Linked DNA regions of Homo sapiens: regions 1, 2, 3, 5, 6 and 7 are each linked to region 4. Evidence: promoter capture Hi-C in 16 types of primary human blood cells and fetal thymus (Javierre and others, 2016). All regions are on one chromosome and are shown on one strand. The core of a region is centred on a gene start or on the middle of the fragment in contact, and the rest is flanking DNA. Distances in the headings are between cores, read along the strand shown.

Region 1 (2,700 bases), core at 70-2,569, 2.7 Mb after region 4:
ATCAATTCAGAAAAGAAGGGATATTTTAATACCAAGAGCTTCTAAATGTAAGCTTCTCTCATTTCACCAAGGACTGGTAGAATAGGTAAGGATCTGCTGGTAGACCTGGCTGGTTCCCTTCACAGTTGGGTTGCTGCCTCGAGTACTCAAGGCCTCGACAACAAAGGGAGGGATATTCATTGTGGTTGTGAGTCTCTCAAAATACAGGCTTCACAGTGTCAAACCCAGTGTTTCACCTGCCCAGCCTGTTGCTGGTCGCCATCTCTGGGCTCTGGCACCTTTGGGACAAGTTTCTGTCGTTGCACTTCCCACGTTGTTTCATGGGCTTTACTGCCCCCCTCAGTGGCTTGCTGGCTAAAGACAGGAACCACATTAGATCTGACTGCTGGCTGCCCAACACTCAGCAAGTGCTCACCAAATGCCTGTTGCCCACATGAATTAAACTCAGTTTCACTCTTTTGTATCTCCAAATAATGAAAGAAATACTCACTGTACACTGCTTGAAAAATGAGAGGGGAAATGGCCAATTTCATGCTGAGAAAGGAAATATATTTGCTAGTTTTTCCCACAGGCTATTTTATAGCTACTTGATTTCATTTAGGTTGTGGTTATTTTCTGCTGGGCAATCTTTACTCCAAAGAGATGAGGGACCCATGCTTTGCATTGTCCCACCTTCTATAACCATGGTTCTCAGCCTTGCTGCACATTAGAAGCACCTGGGAGAGCTTAAAATACTGATGCTCAGGGGCCCACCTCTGACCAGCTCAATCAGACTCTCTGGGGGTAGGGTCTGAACATTGGTTTTTGTTTGTTGGTTTGCTTCATCTCTGAGAAAAACTCAGTGATGAGTTTTTCTCAGTGATTGTAATGTGCGTCAGTGGCTGAGAACCTGTGGCCTAGACACACTTTTTGGGCTCTTGCAACCGAGTGAGAGCCAGTGGTGAGATGGGGGAAGTCATGGACAAGGAAGGAGGGGAGACTGGAATTCCAGATATAGTCCGCAACTTCCCGTGGACTTGGACTTAAGCCCTTGGTTTTATCTTCTGTAAGATGGGGATAATGACGGCTGTCTCAAAATGCTGTTGAGATGATCTGAATGCCTGGCACAGAGGAATGCTTGTGATGGTTTCATGTGTCAATTAGGATAAGCTATGGTATCCAGATTTTTGGTCAAACAAGTAGCCTAAATGTTACTGTGAAGGTTTTTTTTTTTTTTTTTTTTTTTTTTTTTGGAGATGGAGTTTTGCTCTTGTTGCCCAGGCTGGAGTGCAATGGCGCGATCTCAGCTCACTGCAACCTCCGCCTCCCAGGTTCAAGTGATTCTCCTGCCTCAGGCTCCCCAGTAGCTGGGATTACAGGCTCCCGCCACCATGCCCTGTTAATTTTCTTTTTTTTTTTTTTTGAGACGGAGTCTCGCTCAGGCTGGAGTGCAGTGGCACGATCTAGGCTCACTACAACCTCCGCCTCCCGGGTTTTCTTACGCCATTCTCCTGCCTCAGCCTCCCGAGTAGCTGGGACTATAGGCGCTCGCCACCACGCCTGGCTAATTTTTTGTATTTTCAGTAGAGGCGGGGTTTCACTGTGTTAGCCAGGATGGTCTCGATCTCCTGACCTTGTGATCCGCCCGCCTGCGCCTCCCAAAGTGCCGGGATTACAGGCATGAGCCACCGCGCCCGACCTTAATTTTTGTATTTTTAGTGGAGACGGGGTTTTGTCATGTTGGCCAGGCTGGTCTTGAACTCCTGACCTCAGGTGATCCACCCGCCTCAGCCTCCCAAAGTGCTGGGATTACAGGCGTGAGCTACTGTACCTGGCTGGTATTTTTTTAAAGCTATGATTAACACTTAAATCAGTAGATTTTATTTTTTATTTTAATTTTTTAATTTTATTTTTTATTTTTATTTTTCGGGACAGAATCTCACTCTGTTGCCCAGGCTGGAGTGCAGTGGAGCAATCTCGGCTCACCCACCAGCTTCCGGGTTCAAGCAATTCTCCTGCCTCACCCTCCCGAGTAGCTGGGATCACAGGCACGCACCACCACACCCAGCTAATTTTTTTTTTTTTTTTTTTTTTTTTTGTATTTTCAGGAGAGATGGAGTTTCGCCATGTTGCCCAGGCTGGTCTTGAAATCCTGACCTCAATTGATGCCCCTCCTCAGCTTCCCAAAGTGCTGGGATTACAGGGGTGAGCCACTGTGCCTGGCCTTAAATCAGTAGACTTTGAGTAAAGCAGATTACCCTCCTTAATAGAAAAGACTGATGTCCCTGAAGAGGTAGGAGTTTTGCTTCCAGACTGCCTTTGGACTCAGGATTGCAGTGTGGGCCCTTGCCGGAGTTTCCTGTTTGTTCGCATGCCTTATAGGTTTTGGATTTTGGCCATCTTGTCGGAAGGAAAAAAATAAGATTTTGGATTTACCAGTCCCTGCAATCGCAGGAGTTAATTCCTTAAAATAAGCCCTTCTCCAACTCCTATTGTTTCTGTTTCTTTGGAGAATGCTGATGAATACAATGCTCAATAAATGATTGCTACTGTTGTTACCATCTAACTCAGTAGTGGCTAGGGCTGGTTTGGGGCAATAAGTAAGACTGAAGCTTTATGGGTCAGGGCAATAGGCATTATCCCAAGGAAATGACAGTGATGAGCTCTCACTATTGAATTCCAGAGTGTGAAGTCCAGATGTGAAGATAAACGCAGGGTGCA
Region 2 (2,700 bases), core at 63-2,562, 2.7 Mb before region 4:
ACATGCATAGTAGGACAGCAAGAGAAGTTGCATGTTTCAATTTTGCCATGGATGGAGGAAGTAAAATCTGCCCGTATAATTTGAATCAAAAGTTGGTTCTCATGCAGTTTTCTGGTACTACTTGTGCCATCAAAAAAACCTCAGAGAATTTAATGTACAAATGCACCTCAACTTATGATGATGTTATGTCCTGATAAACCATCATAAGGTGACTATATCATAAGTCAACTTTATCCAGTTGTAAGTTGAGAAGCACACTGAATGCATATTGTTTTCACACTATCACAAAGTTGGAAAATCATAAGCTGAAACATCGTAAAGTTAGGGACCACCTGTAGTTTCACATTATTATGAGTTCCTTGGCAAGGGTAGAACCCAAAGCTTATATAATTTGATGCCCTCTTTTAAAAAAGAAATACAAAATATCTTACTCTTGCAAATTTTATAAAAACCTATGATGAGGCTGAGTGTGGTGGTTCACATCTGTGATCCCAGCGCTTTGGGAGGCTGAGACAGGCAGATCACTTGAGGCCAGGAATTTGAGACCATCCTGGCCAACATGGCAAAACTGCATCTCTCTACTAAAAATACAAAGAAAATTAGCTGGGTGTGGTGGCACGTGCCTCAGCTACTCTGGAGTCTGAAGCATGGGAATCACTTCAACTTGGGAGGCAGAGTTTGCAGTGAGCTGAGATAGCAACACTGCACTCCAACCTGGGCAACAGATTGAGACTGTCTCAGAAAAAAAATATGTAATTTGATCCCATGAAGCTGTGAGGTGGAACCCTTTCAGGACCTTGGAAGGGCCATGCAAATGAGGTGTCCTGAAGCTTTACTCTCATTGGTAACTCAGCCTGTGCCCCAAGTGACAGGCAGAAGCAAAGAAAAATCCTCTACAAATGAACACAATTTTAATCGAAACAACAGCAATCACAACATACCATCAACTATTATCATATCCTGACTTCAGAGATGTTAAAGTACACAACAGTATGCTTCTTAGGAGCAATGAAATATGATATTTCAAAAAGAAAAAAGATAATGTAAATTTTGACCCTGACTTGGCTAAGACAATAACACATGACAACAACAATGATGATAGCTATCATTTATCAAGCTCCTACAGTGTGCCAGCCTTCTCACAAACTTTTTTTCTGCTCCTCACATGAGCTTAATGCCACCACCAAAGACTTGAAAGATACAAGGTAGTGATTCCTACCAAATCCACAATTAACTCACTTGTTTGATCAGTGTACAAATCAAGTAGGTCATAGAAAATGACCACAGATCATCACGGACTAATCCAGTGGTGAGGTGAATCACAACCAGAATTGCAGAGACGGTATTTTTACTGGAGCAAATCCACACAGTCCCTGGCACCTGGGCCACTATTGACCTGGCAAATGCTTTATCCTGCCCACCCCCACCTTAATCCTCTTCTGCCCTGTTGTGGCAGGGACAGCAGTATACTTTTACTGTCCTGCCTCCGGGCTATGTCGGCTTGCCTGCACTTAGTCAGAATGCAATCTGGAGGGACCCAGAAGCCCAAGCTGATCCATTACATATCTTTATCATGCTAATTGGACCTGGAGAGCCCCAAAGAGCTAGCACCTAAATGCCTTAGTAAAGTACCTGCAATGCCAGAAAATGGGAGATAAAGCCTGACAATATTCAGGAGTCTGCCACATGCGTGAAGCCTCTAGAGTCCAGTGGTCTGGGCTTTGTTGGGATAGACCTTCTAACATGAGATTCAAGTTGTACTTTACACCAGAAAGAGCCATGAAGAAAAAGATATGAAGCTTAATTTTCAGAAGTAACACAAACCAGATTTGAGTATCTGTTGCTGTGAACCACTAACTCAAGTAACCCTTAAGGGTACAAGGTTTTTGGCTTTTGTTTTTGAATTTTTATTTTAACATAATTTCAGGCTTACAGAGCAGTTGAAAGAATAGTTGAAGAATTGCCATATACCCTTCACTCAGATTTCACAAATATTAACATTTTCATAGGCAGACAGAAGCAAATTATTTTTAAGTTGAAGTAGTTAAGTTTCTTTTATACTTATTTAGTTCTAGGAATTTTGACTGATAGACATTGACTGGTGGGGGAGGTGGAGGTTGCTGGCTGACCAAGGTGATCTGTGGTGGTTGGTGGCATGTTGGTGGCTAAAGCAGGCAATGTGCAGTGTGGTAAGGATGTGTCATAGTGACCACCTGGATGAGCCAGCAGGGCCAGGTATAATGAAACATTGCCATGGAGTTTCTTCCCCCAGATACAGTGTGGCCCAGGTGGATGCCACGGTGCCACCCTCTGGTGCTGAGGAGCCCACACTGTGCGGAGCCTGCCCTGCCTATGCACCGGTGCCGATGACCCAGCCAGGCCTGATTTAGCCCCACCAGGCAGGCAGCAATGGCCCCTCTCAAGCATGGAGCTCCCTCCCTGAGACAGGAAGCTATTGGAGAACTGGGCTTTGAAGCCATCAACTCACAGCTAACTGTAGAGAGCAAAGATACCCACATTATCAGCAGGATTGAGAGCTACTCACGTAAGATAGCAGGAGACGACAAACACTGTTCTGACAGGAGGGCGGCCCACATACTGAAGGCTCTCTCCCCATCCCAGACCTCAGGCCTCAGCCCCAGCAGCCTGAGCAAGAACCAAGGTGGCAAGGACAAGGGCCCCCCTCAGGGACAAGTGCAA
Region 3 (2,700 bases), core at 190-2,689, 2.4 Mb after region 4:
GACGAAGTATCACTCTGTGGCTCAGGCTGCAGTACAGTGAGGCGATCTCAGTTCGCTGCAACTGCCACCTCCCAAGGTCAAGTGATTCTCCTGCCTCAGCCTCCTGAGTAGCTGGGATTACAGACGCATGCCACCACGCCCGGCTAATTTTTGTATTTTTAGTAGAGCTAGGGTTTCACCACGTTGGCCAGGCTGGTCTCAAACTTCTGACCTCAGGCAATCCGCACCTGGCCTCCCAGAGTGCTGGGATTACAGGTGTAAGCCACTGTGCCCGGCTGTTTTTTTTTTTTTTTTTTTTTGAGACAGAGTCTTGCTCTTCGCCCAGGCTGGAGTGCAGTGGCTCAATCTCAGCTCACTCCAACCTCCACCTCCCAGGTTGAAGCGATTCTCCTGCCTCAGCCTCCCAAGTAGTTGGGACTACAGGCATGCACCACCACGCCCCTCTAAGTTTTATATTTTCAGTAGTGACGGGGTTTTGCCATGCCTGCCTCAGCATCCCAAAGTGCTGGGATTACAGGCGTGAGCCACTGAGCCCGGCTGTTTCTTTTTGTGTGTGTTTTTTTTAATGAAACAGGGTCTCGCTCTGTTGCCCAGGCTGGAGTGTAGTGGTGCAATCACAGCTCTCTGCAGCCTCTACCTCCCTTCAGGGCCCAAGCAATTCTCCCACCTCAGCGTCCCAAGTAGCTAGGATTACAGGCCTGAGCCGCTAATTATTTTCTTTTCTTCTTTCTCATTCTCTCTCTCTCTTTTTTTTTTTTTTTACCATGTTGCCCAGGCTGGTCTTGAACTCCTGGACTCAAGAGATCCGCCACTCTGCCTCCCAAAATGCCGTGATTACAGGTATGAGCCACCACACCCAGCAATGCTGCAAGTCTTATGGGCCAGGATAGTGTAATCTAAGAAATGATATATGAAGAACTCTCACAATAGGGAAGAGGTGAGGAGTGTCCAGGCAGAGAGAAGAGCATTTGCAGAGGCCCTGGGCGAGAAGAAACCTGCATCCTTTAAGGACCTAAATGAAGCCAAGCAGGCAGAGGCTAGATCACACATGGGGGCTTCATGCCCACCTTAAGTAGTTTGGGTCTTTAAAAAAGGAATGAGACTCATAAAGAGGTTTTAAGGAGCGAATGCTATTGCTGCCATGAACAGATATTCCTTCCCCATAGCTGCAGAGCAGGCACAGGGCTGTTTTTGCCCGCCAGTATGTCCCCACCGTCTAGCCCAGAGCGGGGCCAGCGGCCGGCTCCTACCCACACTTGCTGGCAGGAAGACTGGACGCACTGCGGGACATGGTGATGTCCTGGGTTGGGGCTGAGGAAGGCCTATGCGCGGAGGGTGCGGCCTTCGGCTAAGGCAGAGGACCAGGGTTGGGTCCGTGGCGGCGGGAGGGGTGGCCTCCTGCGCTGGTCGCCCCAGGGGACCTGAGAGGCGCGACAAACAGTCGGCGCGTTTGGTACTCGCGCCTGCAGAGCTTTCAACCTCCGCGCCGGCTGCGCCTGTTTCTCGGCCAGGGGAGCAAGGCCACGCGGCCTACGCAGCCGAGTCGGAACCAACCGGTTGTTTGGTGAAACCTACCCCAGAGCCTCCCGCGGCCCACAGAGCACAGGTGAGGCAGCAGACCGGGTGGGGTCGGTGTCGCGCCTGCGCCCGCCCGGACGCCTCGGGCCCGCCCGCTCCGCACCCTGGAAACCCCTGCACTCAGCCCCCCGGCGTCCCCACGCTCTCGGCCCTGCTGCGCCGGCGGCGGCCATCTCTGGGCGGCGGCGGCGGGCGGTGTTTGCGCGGTCGGTGAGACCCGCGCGGGTGAGACGCTGGGTGAGTTCCGGACGCTTCCAGCCGGCCCGCCGGTGATCCCAGACCTCGGGGCGGGACGCGGCTCCCGCTCACCGCCGGCAAAGGTGGAGGTGCGGCGGGGCGCGGGGCGCGGGGCCAGCCCGGGGCGGTGCGGGGGCGTCCCTGCCTAGCGAGGCCCTGCCCCGCGACCTGCCGCACCCTCCTCCGGCCTGTTCGCGACCTCTAAAGATAATACTTCTCACTGTCGAAAACGTGGAACAGAAAGCAAGGAAGCAAGCAAAGCAGCCGTGCCGCTGCTCCCCAGAGACAAGCTGCGTTAACATGAGGGTGTATATTCTTCCAGATGGTTTTTCCTTGTAACATGAGCGGGGCTTGTTTTTGCAGAACCTGCATCATAAAGTGCTGAAACTCTCTCTCTCTCTCTCTCTCTCTCTCTCTCTCTCTCTCTCTCGACTCTCTCTCTCTCGACTCTCTCTCTCTCTCTCTCGACTCTCTCTCTCTCTCTCTCTCTCTCTCGACTGTACATTCCTGTGTGTCAGGTTGACTACCTCATCCATCCCTGACTCTTGGCATGGCTTTGGACTGTGATTTACTAAATGTAGTTTCTCCCTGATGGTGAGCGTACAAGTGGTTTTCAGTTTTTAGTTATTGCAAAAAGTAATTCATTGAGCATCGTTGTATCTGGGTTTTTGAGCGTGATCATTTCTGTAGAAAGAATCGCACAAGATTCGTTCTAAAACAAGATAGAATCCACGGTCTATACCACAAGGCTTCTGGTATAGATTGTGAAATGGCCCTCAGAAAAGTTATTCTCCTTTTTGTACCTCCAGTAAGTAGCATTTGGGAATACTTGGCTCGAGGAGCTTCCTGAGTGATTTTACTGGAGACCCCCCTCACTTCATAAGG
Region 4 (2,700 bases), core at 103-2,602:
CACGAAAGGGACTGTCGGAAGTAAGGCAAGAGCCTGTTAATCTCAGTAAACGCCTTGGGGTCTCCGGGGTCGTAGTTGAGCACTAGGCGGCTCGCGGAAATGTAGAGAGCAGTAGCATTCACGGGGTTCATTGCAGACACTTCGACACCAATGGCTCCCGGTTGAAAAGAAATTCCGGATCCAACTTAGTAAGCAGCCAGGGAACGATGGCGAATTTGCAACAATTCGGAAGAAATCAGAGCCGAACCATTGGCCAAACAAGTAACCAAAATCCGTGCAAGTTTGTGGAGCTGAAACAATCCTCCCACACATGGGGCCTTGGCGCCCCTCCGTCCCTGAGACTTCCAGACCAAAAATATGAGAGAGAAACCAGCGTTCGAGTTCGTCCGGAGCGACCACAGAGCGCAGAACGCGGCGGCTTGGGCGCTCGGGGCGGGACTCGGAGCTCAGTCTAGCCCCGCGGCTCGGCAGGCGGCCTGCACTCGAGCTCCATCTCCGGACACGGAGGCGCCTCCTCAAGTCGAGCTGGCAGGCGCGGGAGCAGGCCCCGGCCCCGTCTGAGGCGCGGCACGCTTCTCCCGGGCTGCAGGGCCTCTTACTCCATCCCAGTACAGGGCGCGGAGGCGGCGGCGACGGCAAGGACGACGGTCGGGCAGCGGCTTCCCGGATCTAGTGCAAGACGCCGCGGCGGCGACGAAGGTTGATGTTGCGGCTGGCGGACGCCGCCGCCGCGCTCTCCATATCGGACGCGGGGCCCAGACTGCGCCCTGGCTCTCCGCCCCGTGGGTTGCAGCCCGCAGTTCCCCGAGGTGGCGAGGCGGGCGGGAGTCCTCAACCCGGAGGGGAAGGCCGGGGAGGAAGTGCGCGGGCCGCCGCCGGCGGGCGGGAGGGGGCGGGGGGCAAGCCCGGCCGGGCCGCGGCGGCGCCCCTCGCGCCTCAGTCGCACACTCCGGGGTCACCAGACTCAAGCGCCGCCCCCTCACTGCCCGGCCATTTTTTCGGCGCCACACACACAGACGACTCCTCCGCCGAGCACGACGGCCGCCGCCGCCCTCAGCACTCCCCGGCCGCGGAAGGCAAGCGCTCACACCGCCAGGCCCCGCCGCCGCCCAGCGCACACAGCAAGGCCCCGCCGCAGGCCCCTCCCCCGTGCCTCGCCGCCCTCACCCCGACTCCACGCGCCACTCCAGCTCGGTAGGGCCCGGGCTGCTGCGGCCTTAATGGATCCCGCGGGCTGTGTGGCGCCTCAGGCCTCTGCTGGCGGCGACGACGACCGTTACCCCAACGGGCAAAGCCACTGTCATCCCCGAGACTCCCCCGCCGCCGTCGTCGCTAGCGCTCGCACGCATGCGCAGAGCACACTCTCACCCCTCCCCCCTTTCCTCTCCCTTCGCTTCCCTTTTCCCTTGCTTCTCCTCTAACAACCCCCTCCACAGCCTCCCAGAGCTACCGGCTCACTCCACGCATGCGCAAGCTGCTACCTAGCTCCGCCGCCTTTCGCCCTTCCGCGTGCGCTTTGACCGCCCACCCAGAAAACCGGATAAACACATCAGCCTGCTCGCGCCAGTCCCTCACCGCTGCCAACCCACCCTGGGCTCACTGCGCATGCCTGGCTCTCCACTTCGACTCTCAGAATGGAGCATGCTCTCTGCGAGCCGACAGCTCTCTTCGCCCCTCCCCCACGTGCTCTCAAATTCCCTCTCCCAGGCATGTGGGCTGTGGTGAAACATTCGTTAGCTGGCACATCCTTCCCCAGTGTGGGCTGCAGGCTTCCCGCATTACACTGCTTCTGTGCCCGCCAACGCCGGGGCCCGACTTGGTAGCGCCATGTGGCGCTCTGCACTGGCCTGAACGCGGCCTCTCGTCCTGACTGACCGCGGTGTGAGGAAATAGCCGCGCCAGGCCCCAAGCCCCGCCCTCGCGGCCTTTCTCCTGGAACCGCTCATCCCGACCGCGGAAAGGGCGCAGCCTCGGCTGGCTGGCAGGCTCTCGCCGAGCCGGGAAGGCTGCAGTAGTCAACGTGGCTGCGCGCCCAGCAGGCGTGCGGACGGCTTTTGCCGGGTCGGGGCCGCGTTCCGCACCTCTCTGCGGTGGTTCGCAGTCAGAGGGCTCTAAGGCCCTGGCAGGCTGTATGTAAGCGTGGAGGCTCGAACCCACTGCCCCCTCCTACCCGTCGGACCCGCGCTGTTCCCACGGCCTCTGGCCCTTGGACTCGTGCGGCCTCACCTTCATGGGTGCCGATCAGGACTTCACCGAGCTCTCACCGGAACAGAGTCCTGTTTTAAAAACAAAACGAACTCCTTTTTTTTTTTTTTGAAAGACCTAGCTTTTTTAAAAGACCTAGCTCTTCTGTGTGAACAGATGTCTTGAAGAATGCGTGATCTTGCTCTAGAACAAACCCAAATCCTTGCAAATGTTTTGTTTTTTAAAACAAGCTTTTGCCTTTTGTTTTTGCAGGAGATCAAGGGCACTGGGATATAAATAAACAAAAGCCTGACTTAGTAGATGACTTCCCTCCCATCTCAAAGTACAAAACCTTTTTTTGAGTAGCACAAATAGTAACAGGCCATAGGAAGCATTTCTTATCTCTGTACACACCAAAGCTCCTCAGCATAATTTTTCATGCACAGTAGGTACTCTATACGTTTGCAAAGTGAAAATTATGATGCGTGTAAATCTATTGTGGCACATGTTACATAT
Region 5 (2,700 bases), core at 75-2,574, 2.4 Mb after region 4:
GAATTTAAACTAGTACAACCACTTTGTAAATCACTTTGGCTATTTCTTAAAAGGTTAATAAGCACTTACCATAAGACCCAGTCATGCCATTCCTAGAATTTACCCAAGAGAAATGAAAGCATTATGTCCACACAAAGACTGTACACAAATGTTCGTAAGAGCTTTATCTATAATAGCCAGAAACTGGAAACAACTCAAATGTCCAGCAGCAGGTGAACAGACACACAAACTGTGGTATACCCATTGGATGGAATACCCCTCAGCAATAAAAAAGAATATGTGCAACATGGATAAATGTCAAAATAATTACGCTGAAAGCCAGCCATAAAATAGTACATACTATAACATTCCATTTATATAAAACTCTAGAAAATGAAAACCAACTGTGGTGATAGAAAGCAGATCAGTGGTTGCTGAGAGAATTGGAGGCTAGACACAGAGACTACTAACGAGAACAAGGGAATTTGGGGGGATGATGGATATATTGACAATCCTGATTGGGGTGGTTTCATAGGTGTATATGTAAGTCAAAACTTATACTACATATGTGCAGCTTATTGTATATTAAATATATCAATAAAGCTGTTTTAAAAATAAAGTTTTCCTGAAATTTAAAAAAAGATTTGAAACTACAAATGGAAAGAAAATATGAAGTACCTGAGAATACTGACCCAAAACAACCAACACAGTGATATATTCTAATATTATTAGCAGACTTTAATGAAAAAGAAAAAATTTGGCTGGGCGTAGTGGCTCATGCCTGTAATCTCAGCACTTTGGAAGCCTGAGGCAGGTGGATCACTTGAGCCTGGGTTCATGACCAGCCTGGGCAACTTGGCAAAACCCTGTCTCTCAAGAAAAAAAAAAAAAAAAATTAGCTGGGTGTGGCAGCATACACCTGTAGTCCTAGCTACTCAGGAGGCTGAGGTGGGAGGACTGCTTGAACCCAGGAGGTGGAGGCTGCAGTGAGCCAAGATCATACCACTGCACTACAGCCAGGGTGACAGAGTAAGACTGTATCTCAAAAAGAAAAAAAGAAAACAAATTATTTGGTTATCTACAAGAAAAAAACCCACATGACTTATAAGAAGAAGAAAAATTAGATAATAATCTGACTTTGATACCAATACTTTATTCCAGAAGAAAAAGGAGTAATGTATTTAAGAAATTCACGGAAAAGAAGTGTGAGCCAAAGACTTTATATCTGCAAAATTGACTTTGAAGTATAAAAAGAATAAACTTTGATCAATATATAAGAACTCAGACAATATTACTTCCCGAGGAATCTAACAATGTATTAGCTTCAGGTAGCCAAAATGCCTAGAGAGACCTCAGCATAAACACTGGTGGTAAACATTAAATATATTAATAGAACTAATAGGCTAAGAGGGAAAAAGCAGAACATGAAATGGCTATATACTCTGACAATGCAGATAGAGCATAACTGTTAAAACAGAGAGAGAAGAAAAAATGAGAAGAACATAAGCCAAAAAAAAAAGGTTTAATGTTTTCAGTAATCATATTGATGGTGATTTCAGAAATATAGTTCTGATACTGTCATATGTATAATACAGAATAATGAGTAAATATGGAATATTCTATTTTCTCCTATATTCTTGAGAATCATGATTCTCAGTATGGAAAAAAGGAGTTACAGTTGTGATAGAGAAGTTGTTAAGTAAAAGCTCTGTAATCTCAATCTGAAGACTGGAAGTAGAATACATTAGGTATCTTTTAACATGTGTGTCTATAGACAGATACAGGTATCCTAGCTCTGTCTACTGAAATGCCTGAAACAGTGACTAACTCAGGATCTTTAGCATTCAGACTGTAACTGAAATATTATTTCCCTCTAAATGAAACCCGGGCATTTTAAAGAAATGGCTGATTTCATATCTGCGATAGGAATTGTTCAATATATTATATAACAAGGAAGCTATCAAAAACTAGGAGGCCAGGCTCACAGTGCAGCTTGGCCAACATGGTGATACCCCGTTTCTACTAAAAATACTAAAAAAAAAAAAAAAATAGCCGATCCTGGTGGTGTGTGCCTATAATCCCAGCTACTTAGGAGGCTGAGGCAGGAGAATCACTTGAACCCAGGAGACAGAGGTTGCAGACAGCTGAGATCGTGCCACTGCACTCCAGCCTGGACAACAGAATGAGACTCTATCTCATAAATAAATAATAAAAAAAAAACAGGGAAGTGATTACTACAAAACTATAAAACCCAGAAGAATGGTGACTAAATGGGAACACAGGAGTTTTGACTGGGATAGGGTAATGGAGGGGATCTGGCATACCTGAATGGTATGGTCCTGTAATAATTTATTAAGCTATACATTTGGTATGTGATTTATAACAAAAATTTCATTTTACGCTAAAAAGATTTTGTTAAATAACAAAAAATAGAAAAGTAAAGGAAATGCTAACCTAACCAAAATAAAGCTGGTACGGGTTGAACGTTCCTAATATGAATATTTGAAATCCAAAATGCTCCAAAATCCAAAACTTTTTGAGCACCAACTTGACACCACAAGTAGAAAATTCCACACCTGACCTTATGTGACAGGTCACAGTCACAACTTCATTTCATGCATAAAACTATTAAAAATGTATAAAATTAGCTTCAGGCTGTGTGTATAAGCTGTATATGAAACAATAAATGAATTTTGTGTTTAGAGTTACCCAACTCTAAAC
Region 6 (2,700 bases), core at 1-2,500, 2.7 Mb after region 4:
TGGTGAGGCTGCTGCTCTCTTCCCAGCCTTGGGTGCCTTTTGCCTTTCAGTTCTCGGGGAGGAGACAGGCTGGTCCTTCATTGCTGGCCCCGGCCAACTTCTCCGTCTCACTGGAGGTGGGCTGCTACCTGCCCACCAGGGCTTGGTCCTGGAAGCTTCCCTCCCTTGCTTTCTCTGCTTGAGACGGCAGTTGGGGGAGTGCTGACAGCCAGCTTCAGAACAGGGAGCCTCTGCCTGATGAAGCAAAGGCTCTGTCCATATTACTTTATTTTTCAGCAAGCCAGGAATACACACCCACAAATGCACACATCACCAATGAGGTATGAATGCCACACACACTGTGGTCCCAGTAAGCACTTCCTAAGTGTTAGCCATATGATTATTACAATGCCAAAAATATATGCCCACTCTGCAGGCGAATGACAGACACACACACCTCCCACCCTGTCACCAATACACAACTGACACTGTACACACACATTTGCAGCAGATACAGACTACACAATTACTTGCCCATGGGCTAAATTTTCACGCTAGACAAAGCACAAACAGACATGCACACAGCAGGCTGCTTTCTGTTCTGCAACTCCCCTTAGCCAGATAGTGGAGCAGCCGGGCACCAAAGGCACCCAGACACCAGGCCTGACCAGCCTCTAGGGCTTCCTGCTCCAGCTGAGCCTCCCTCTCCATCCTGCTCCTGCCGGTTCCTGGTAAGCTCCAGTCCCAGTCTTGAGGTGATGCCCCCTGAGAATCCCCGTGGCTTGGTCTCCTGCCTTGTAGCCTCTCGCAGGATGCCTGTGGGGGGCGGGGGGCATTCTGAGCAGAAGCCACTTGGGCCCAACTATACATAACAGGATACCACCCTGAGGTTCCTACCGCCTGACCACTGGAGGGCTGAAGTGAGAGGCCTGCAGGCTCATTCCCGTGGCGCAAAACCGCTCCTGGCCCACCAGCCGGCCTGGACCTGCCGCCACATTGCTGGCCAGGCCCCGAGATAGACGGGGGGGGGGCAGTGAGGGCTGGGTGCGGGGTCTAGTCTCAGCTGAGCAGCAGCCCGCAAGAACCGGCGGATCTATCCTATCAGAAGTCGGAAGTCATCTATCCCATCAGAAGAGTGAAAGCCGACCACCCCCTAATCCGCCTGGGAGAACCAGACTGCAACCAGGTCAAACGCCTGTGTGCCTGCGCGGAAGCATGGATCTTAATTCGTTATTTGGGGATCTCAGTAAAGGAAGAGAGAGAAAGAAAAAAGACTAAATTTCTGCAGCCGCGAAGTATGTTCAATCCTTACTGAAACCTCCAAATCTCCTACCCATATCTCAAGGTAAATGAATTCTGACTATTAAAAATAATAAAGCAGTCACTTCTCACATTTGTACAGAGGTTAGCAGTTTGCAGCGCATTTCCACAACCAGAATTTTATCTATTAATGTTTGGAACAAACTCTTGGCTGTTATAGTTGACTCAAAATCGAAAAGTTTGAGAACAATAATAAAAACACAGCCAGCCCATACACCTAGTACAACTGTGTATGAGGTAGAATACAAACTTGAATAGGTACAAAAATAAACCAAGTCCTACCTACAGTCGCGCCTTGTGAACGAACCACGGCAGAAAAAGTCTTTCTGCTGACGTTAAACAGCCGCAACGGGCCAGTGATGACACAGAAAACAAACAATCCCAGGAAAACAAAGCAGCAGCGACAGCCACAAACGCCTGCCACCCCGGTTGCTCTCAATCTTTGTTTAACTCATTCTGAAAAAGATAAAATTTTGCTGAAAATCTTCCTCTTTTAACTAGCTGCTGAACTAAGGAGCGACAGAAATAAAGAAGTCCGTGTTAAAAGAAGGAACACAAAATTTATTCGGGAATCGACAAGGCAAAAAACAAAAACAAAACAAAAAAACACAACAAAAGTGCTCTAGTTCTCTCTAGAAAATTTGGTCCCCCAAACAACAAGCTACAGTACAACCAGGTCTATGGTTTTCGGGCCGGGCCGGCTCCGGGCCACAAGACCGCCTAGGTCGGCCGCTGCCGGGTTTCACATTTCTCCTTCCCAAGGTGGGAGAAGCAGGAGGTTTGAAAAACAAAAAGCAGGGAGGACGAGCCGTCCCAGCAGCGTGGGCCAGGCAGGCAGTGATCTCCCTGCCTCCAGGACTTGCATCGAAAGATCCGGGGACATTTGTTTTTGATTTTTTTCTTCAGATAGGGAGAGGGTGAAACTTCCCCAATTGGTAGACGAAACCATCTTTTATTGGATATATTCTCCTAACTCTGAACACAGCTTTTTGAAGGCCCAACAAAAACTCTAACGCAAATCTTCCAGAAGAGAAGATGAGGAATACTAAAGCTTTTGATTTTCATATTTGGATTTAGCAAACTCCAAGGCCACAATACTTCCCCGGTTGCCCGGTGAATTTTTTTTCCTTTTTTTTTTTTTAAATACTCTCTTAAAAAGTTCCACCGATCTTTCAAACAAAACATTAGCCAGCCGCCGGGGCCCGGAGGTGCCCGAAGCGACGGGACTGATAGCGGAGGAAACGCAGCCTCCCTCCGCGCCCGCCCGCGGTGTAAACCGAGTACAGGCCGTGGAGCCAGGCTGCCCCGGCTCCCGCTGGGTCCCAACCCCCGCCCCGCCTAGTGGGCCCCGCGGCAAGCGGCTTCTGAACAGCTTCAAGAGGGTTCGCGGAGCAAACACAC
Region 7 (2,700 bases), core at 115-2,614, 2.6 Mb after region 4:
TGGTATGACAATGAATTTGGCTACAGCAACAGGGTGGTAGACCTTATGGTGCACATGGCCTCCTGGACCACCAGCCCCAGTGAGACCATGTAAGTAAGAGAGAGGCCCTCAGCTGCTGTGCAGTCCTGCCCCACTCAGTCCCCCGCCATCACACTGAGAATCTCCCTTCCCAGACACGGTTTCCATGCCAGACCCCCTGAAAAATGGGATAGGCCTAGAAAGCTCCACTTTGTAGTGCACCATCAATAAAGTCCTCTGTATTCAGCACCCCTCTACTGCCAAAAAAAAAAATAGCAACACACACATTTTCCAAATATATATCTTACTCTATGTCATTTCTTTTTTTTTTTTTTTTTGAGACGGAGTCTCGCTCTGTCGCCCAGGCTGAAGTACAGTGGCATGATCTCGGCATACTGCAAGCTCTGCCTCCTGGGTGCACGCCATTCTCCTGCCTCAGCTTCCCGAGTAGCTGAGACTACAGGTACCCACCACCATGCCCGGCTAATTTTTTTGTATTTTTAGTAGAGACAGGGTTTCACCGTGTTAGCCAGGATGGTCTTGATCTCCTGACCTCATGATCTGCCCACCTCAGCCTCCCAAAATGCTGGGATTACAGGCGTGAGCCACCACGCCCGGCCTTCTTTTTTTTTTTTTTTTTTTTGAGACAGGCTGTCACTCTGTCACCCAGGATGGAGTACAGTGGCACGATCTTGGCTCACTGCAACATCTACCTCCTGGGCTCAAGCAATCCTCCCACATCAAGCCTCCCGAGTAGTTGGGACCACAGGTGCATGCCACCATGCCTGGCTAATTTTTTGTATTTTTGGTAGACGTGGGGTTTTGCCATGTTGCCCAGGCTGGTCTCGAACTCCTGAACTCAAGTGATCCATCTGCCTTAGCCTCCCAAAGGGCTGGGATTACAAGCATGAAATCGCTGCACCTGGCCAAATTTTTTTTTTTTTTAATAGAGACAGTGTCTTGCTTTGTTGCCCAGGCTGTCTTGAAACCCTAGCTCAAGCAATCCTCCTGCTTCGGCCTCCCAAAGTGCTAGGATTACAGGTGTGAGCCACCATGCCTGGCCCAAGGGCATTTCTTATGAGAAATATTTTCTTCTAATATACAGATAACTTTAGTATATCAGCAAACAAGTTAATCTCTAAAATTAGAATTATGCAGGTCCAAGTTCTACTGAAATTTAAATGGCACTGAGAACTTTTTTTTTTCTTTTGAGACAGAGTCTCGCTCTGTTGCCCAGGCTGGAGTGCAGTGGCGAGACCTCAGCTCACTGCAACTTCTACCTCCCAGGTTCAAACAATTCTCCTGCCTCAGCCTTCCAAGTAGCTGAGATTACAGGCACACATCACCACACCCGGCTAATTTTTGGTATTTTTAGTAGAGACAGAGTTTTGCTAATGTTGGCCAGACTGGTCTCGAACTCCCGACCTCAAGTGATCCACCCACCTTGGCTTCCAAAGTGTTAGGATTACATGTGTGAGCCCACCAGAAAACTAACTTTTGTTTTTTTGTTTTTTTTGTTTTTTTGAGACGGCGTCTTGCTCTGTTGCCAGGCTGGAGTGCAGTGGTGCAATCTCGGCTCACTGCAACCTCCGCCTCCAGGGTTCAAGTGATTCTCCTGCCTCAGCCTCCCAAGTAGCTGGGATTACAGGTGTGTACCACCATGCCCAGCTAATTTTTGTATTTTTAGTACAGATGGGGTTTCACCATTTTGGCCACAATGGTTTCGATCTCTTGACCTCGTGATCTGCCCACCTTGGCCTCCCAAAGTGCTAGGATTACAGGTGTGAGCCACTGTGCCCAGCCCTTAAACTATAATTAACTTACTTTAGTTGTGAATGTTACTATCATTTCCAAAAAGAAAGCAGTGTGGGCTAAATGTTTTTAAAATTATGTCTTTTTTCTTTTTTTCTCTGAGACTTTTTTCTGAGTGTCTCTCACTGTCATGCAGGCTGGAATACAGTGGCGCCATCTTAGCTCACTATAGCCTCTACCTCCTGGGATCAAGCCATCCTCCTGTCTCAGCCTCCTAAGTAGCTGAGACTACAAGCATACACCACTTCACCTGACTAATTTTGTGGGGTTTTTTTGTTTTGTTTTTTTGTAGAGACAGGGTATCGCTATGTTGCCCAGCCTGATCTAAAATTCCTGGCCTCAAGCAATCCTCCCGCCTCAGCTTCCCAAAGTGCTGATGTTACAAGCATGACCCACAATGCTCCAGCTAAAAATTAAGTCTTTACATAAAAATGAAACTTCTGGGCTCGTGCCTGTAATCCCAGCACTCTGGGAGGCCAAGGCAGGAGAATCGCTTCAGCCCAGGAGCTCAAGGCCAACCTAAGCAACACAGTGTGACCTCATCTCTACAAAAAAATAAACAAAATTAGCCAGGCATGGTGGTGCTCACCTGCAGCCCCAGCTACTCAGGATGTTGAGGTGAGAGAATTGCTCGAGCCCAGTAGGTTGAGGCCATAGTAAGCCAAGATCTTGGCACTGCACTCTAGCCTGGGTGACAGACTGAGATCTTATCTCAAAAAAAAAAAAAACAACAAAAAACGAAAATGAAACTTCTGGCTAGGCATGGTGGCTCATAGCTGTAATCTTAGCACTTTAGGAGATGGAGGTAGGAGGGCGGCTTGAGCCCAGGAGTTTGAAGCCAGCCTGGACAACATAGTGAGACCCCCATCT

What was found. Contacts are between HindIII fragments. The CHiCAGO score rates a contact against its expected background, and 5 or more counts as called.
Region 1: a contact is called between a fragment that was not itself captured here and the fragment with the promoter of MSL2 in region 4, in 1 of 17 cell types (neutrophils). The highest score is 5.3, in neutrophils.
Region 2: a fragment that was not itself captured here is called in contact with the fragment with the promoter of MSL2 in region 4 in 3 of 17 cell types (fetal thymus, non-activated CD4 T cells and naive CD8 T cells); the score reaches 8.4 in fetal thymus.
Region 3: a contact is called between the fragment with the promoter of FAIM here and the fragment with the promoter of MSL2 in region 4, in 6 of 17 cell types (naive CD8 T cells, total CD8 T cells, total B cells and 3 more). The highest score is 6.5, in naive CD8 T cells.
Region 5: a fragment that was not itself captured here is called in contact with the fragment with the promoter of MSL2 in region 4 in 2 of 17 cell types (activated CD4 T cells and fetal thymus); the score reaches 6.0 in activated CD4 T cells.
Region 6: a contact is called between a fragment that was not itself captured here and the fragment with the promoter of MSL2 in region 4, in 1 of 17 cell types (activated CD4 T cells). The highest score is 7.8, in activated CD4 T cells.
Region 7: a contact is called between a fragment that was not itself captured here and the fragment with the promoter of MSL2 in region 4, in 2 of 17 cell types (total CD8 T cells and non-activated CD4 T cells). The highest score is 7.5, in total CD8 T cells.

Annotation. Positions count from the first base shown.
Region 1 is chr3:138,919,173-138,921,872 of GRCh38, forward strand. No RefSeq gene overlaps it. Among named protein-coding and RNA genes, the nearest start is that of LINC01391, 23 kb to the right of the region's middle. The HindIII fragment of the contact is 2,539 bases long and covers 51-2,589 here.
Region 2 is chr3:133,488,357-133,491,056 of GRCh38, forward strand. BFSP2-AS1 (BFSP2 antisense RNA 1) reads right to left here. Exons shown (of 4, transcript NR_189064.1): 1 at 2,546-2,700. It also overlaps the pseudogene MAF1P1. Among named protein-coding and RNA genes, the nearest start is that of BFSP2-AS1, 1.4 kb to the right of the region's middle. RefSeq lists enhancers at 675-724, 745-874. The HindIII fragment of the contact is 969 bases long and covers 829-1,797 here.
Region 3 is chr3:138,607,332-138,610,031 of GRCh38, forward strand. It overlaps FAIM (Fas apoptotic inhibitory molecule), which reads left to right and starts at 1,440. Exons shown (of 6, transcript NM_001033031.2): 1 at 1,440-1,606. RefSeq lists a silencer at 1,528-1,987 and an enhancer at 2,088-2,177. The HindIII fragment of the contact is 4,797 bases long and covers 1-2,700 here.
Region 4 is chr3:136,194,983-136,197,682 of GRCh38, forward strand. It overlaps MSL2 (MSL complex subunit 2), which reads right to left and starts at 1,353. Exons shown (of 2, transcript NM_018133.4): 1 at 1-1,353. The coding sequence starts at 131. RefSeq lists enhancers at 141-210, 261-310, 310-1,056, 361-430, 1,057-1,803 and 2 more and a silencer at 771-1,160. The HindIII fragment of the contact is 2,546 bases long and covers 1-2,433 here.
Region 5 is chr3:138,588,635-138,591,334 of GRCh38, forward strand. All of the region lies in intron 2 of CEP70 (centrosomal protein 70), which reads right to left. Among named protein-coding and RNA genes, the nearest start is that of CEP70, 4.3 kb to the right of the region's middle. The HindIII fragment of the contact is 7,821 bases long and covers 1-2,700 here.
Region 6 is chr3:138,942,385-138,945,084 of GRCh38, forward strand. FOXL2 (forkhead box L2) reads right to left here. Exons shown (of 1, transcript NM_023067.4): 1 at 1,840-2,700. It overlaps LINC01391 (long intergenic non-protein coding RNA 1391), which reads right to left and starts at 1,636. Exons shown (of 3, transcript NR_121649.1): 1 at 1,582-1,636; 2 at 1-234. RefSeq lists an enhancer at 2,139-2,700. The HindIII fragment of the contact is 2,195 bases long and covers 154-2,348 here.
Region 7 is chr3:138,778,748-138,781,447 of GRCh38, forward strand. All of the region lies in intron 2 of PIK3CB (phosphatidylinositol-4,5-bisphosphate 3-kinase catalytic subunit beta), which reads right to left. It also overlaps the pseudogene GAPDHP39. Among named protein-coding and RNA genes, the nearest start is that of PIK3CB, 55 kb to the right of the region's middle. The HindIII fragment of the contact is 4,184 bases long and covers 1-2,700 here.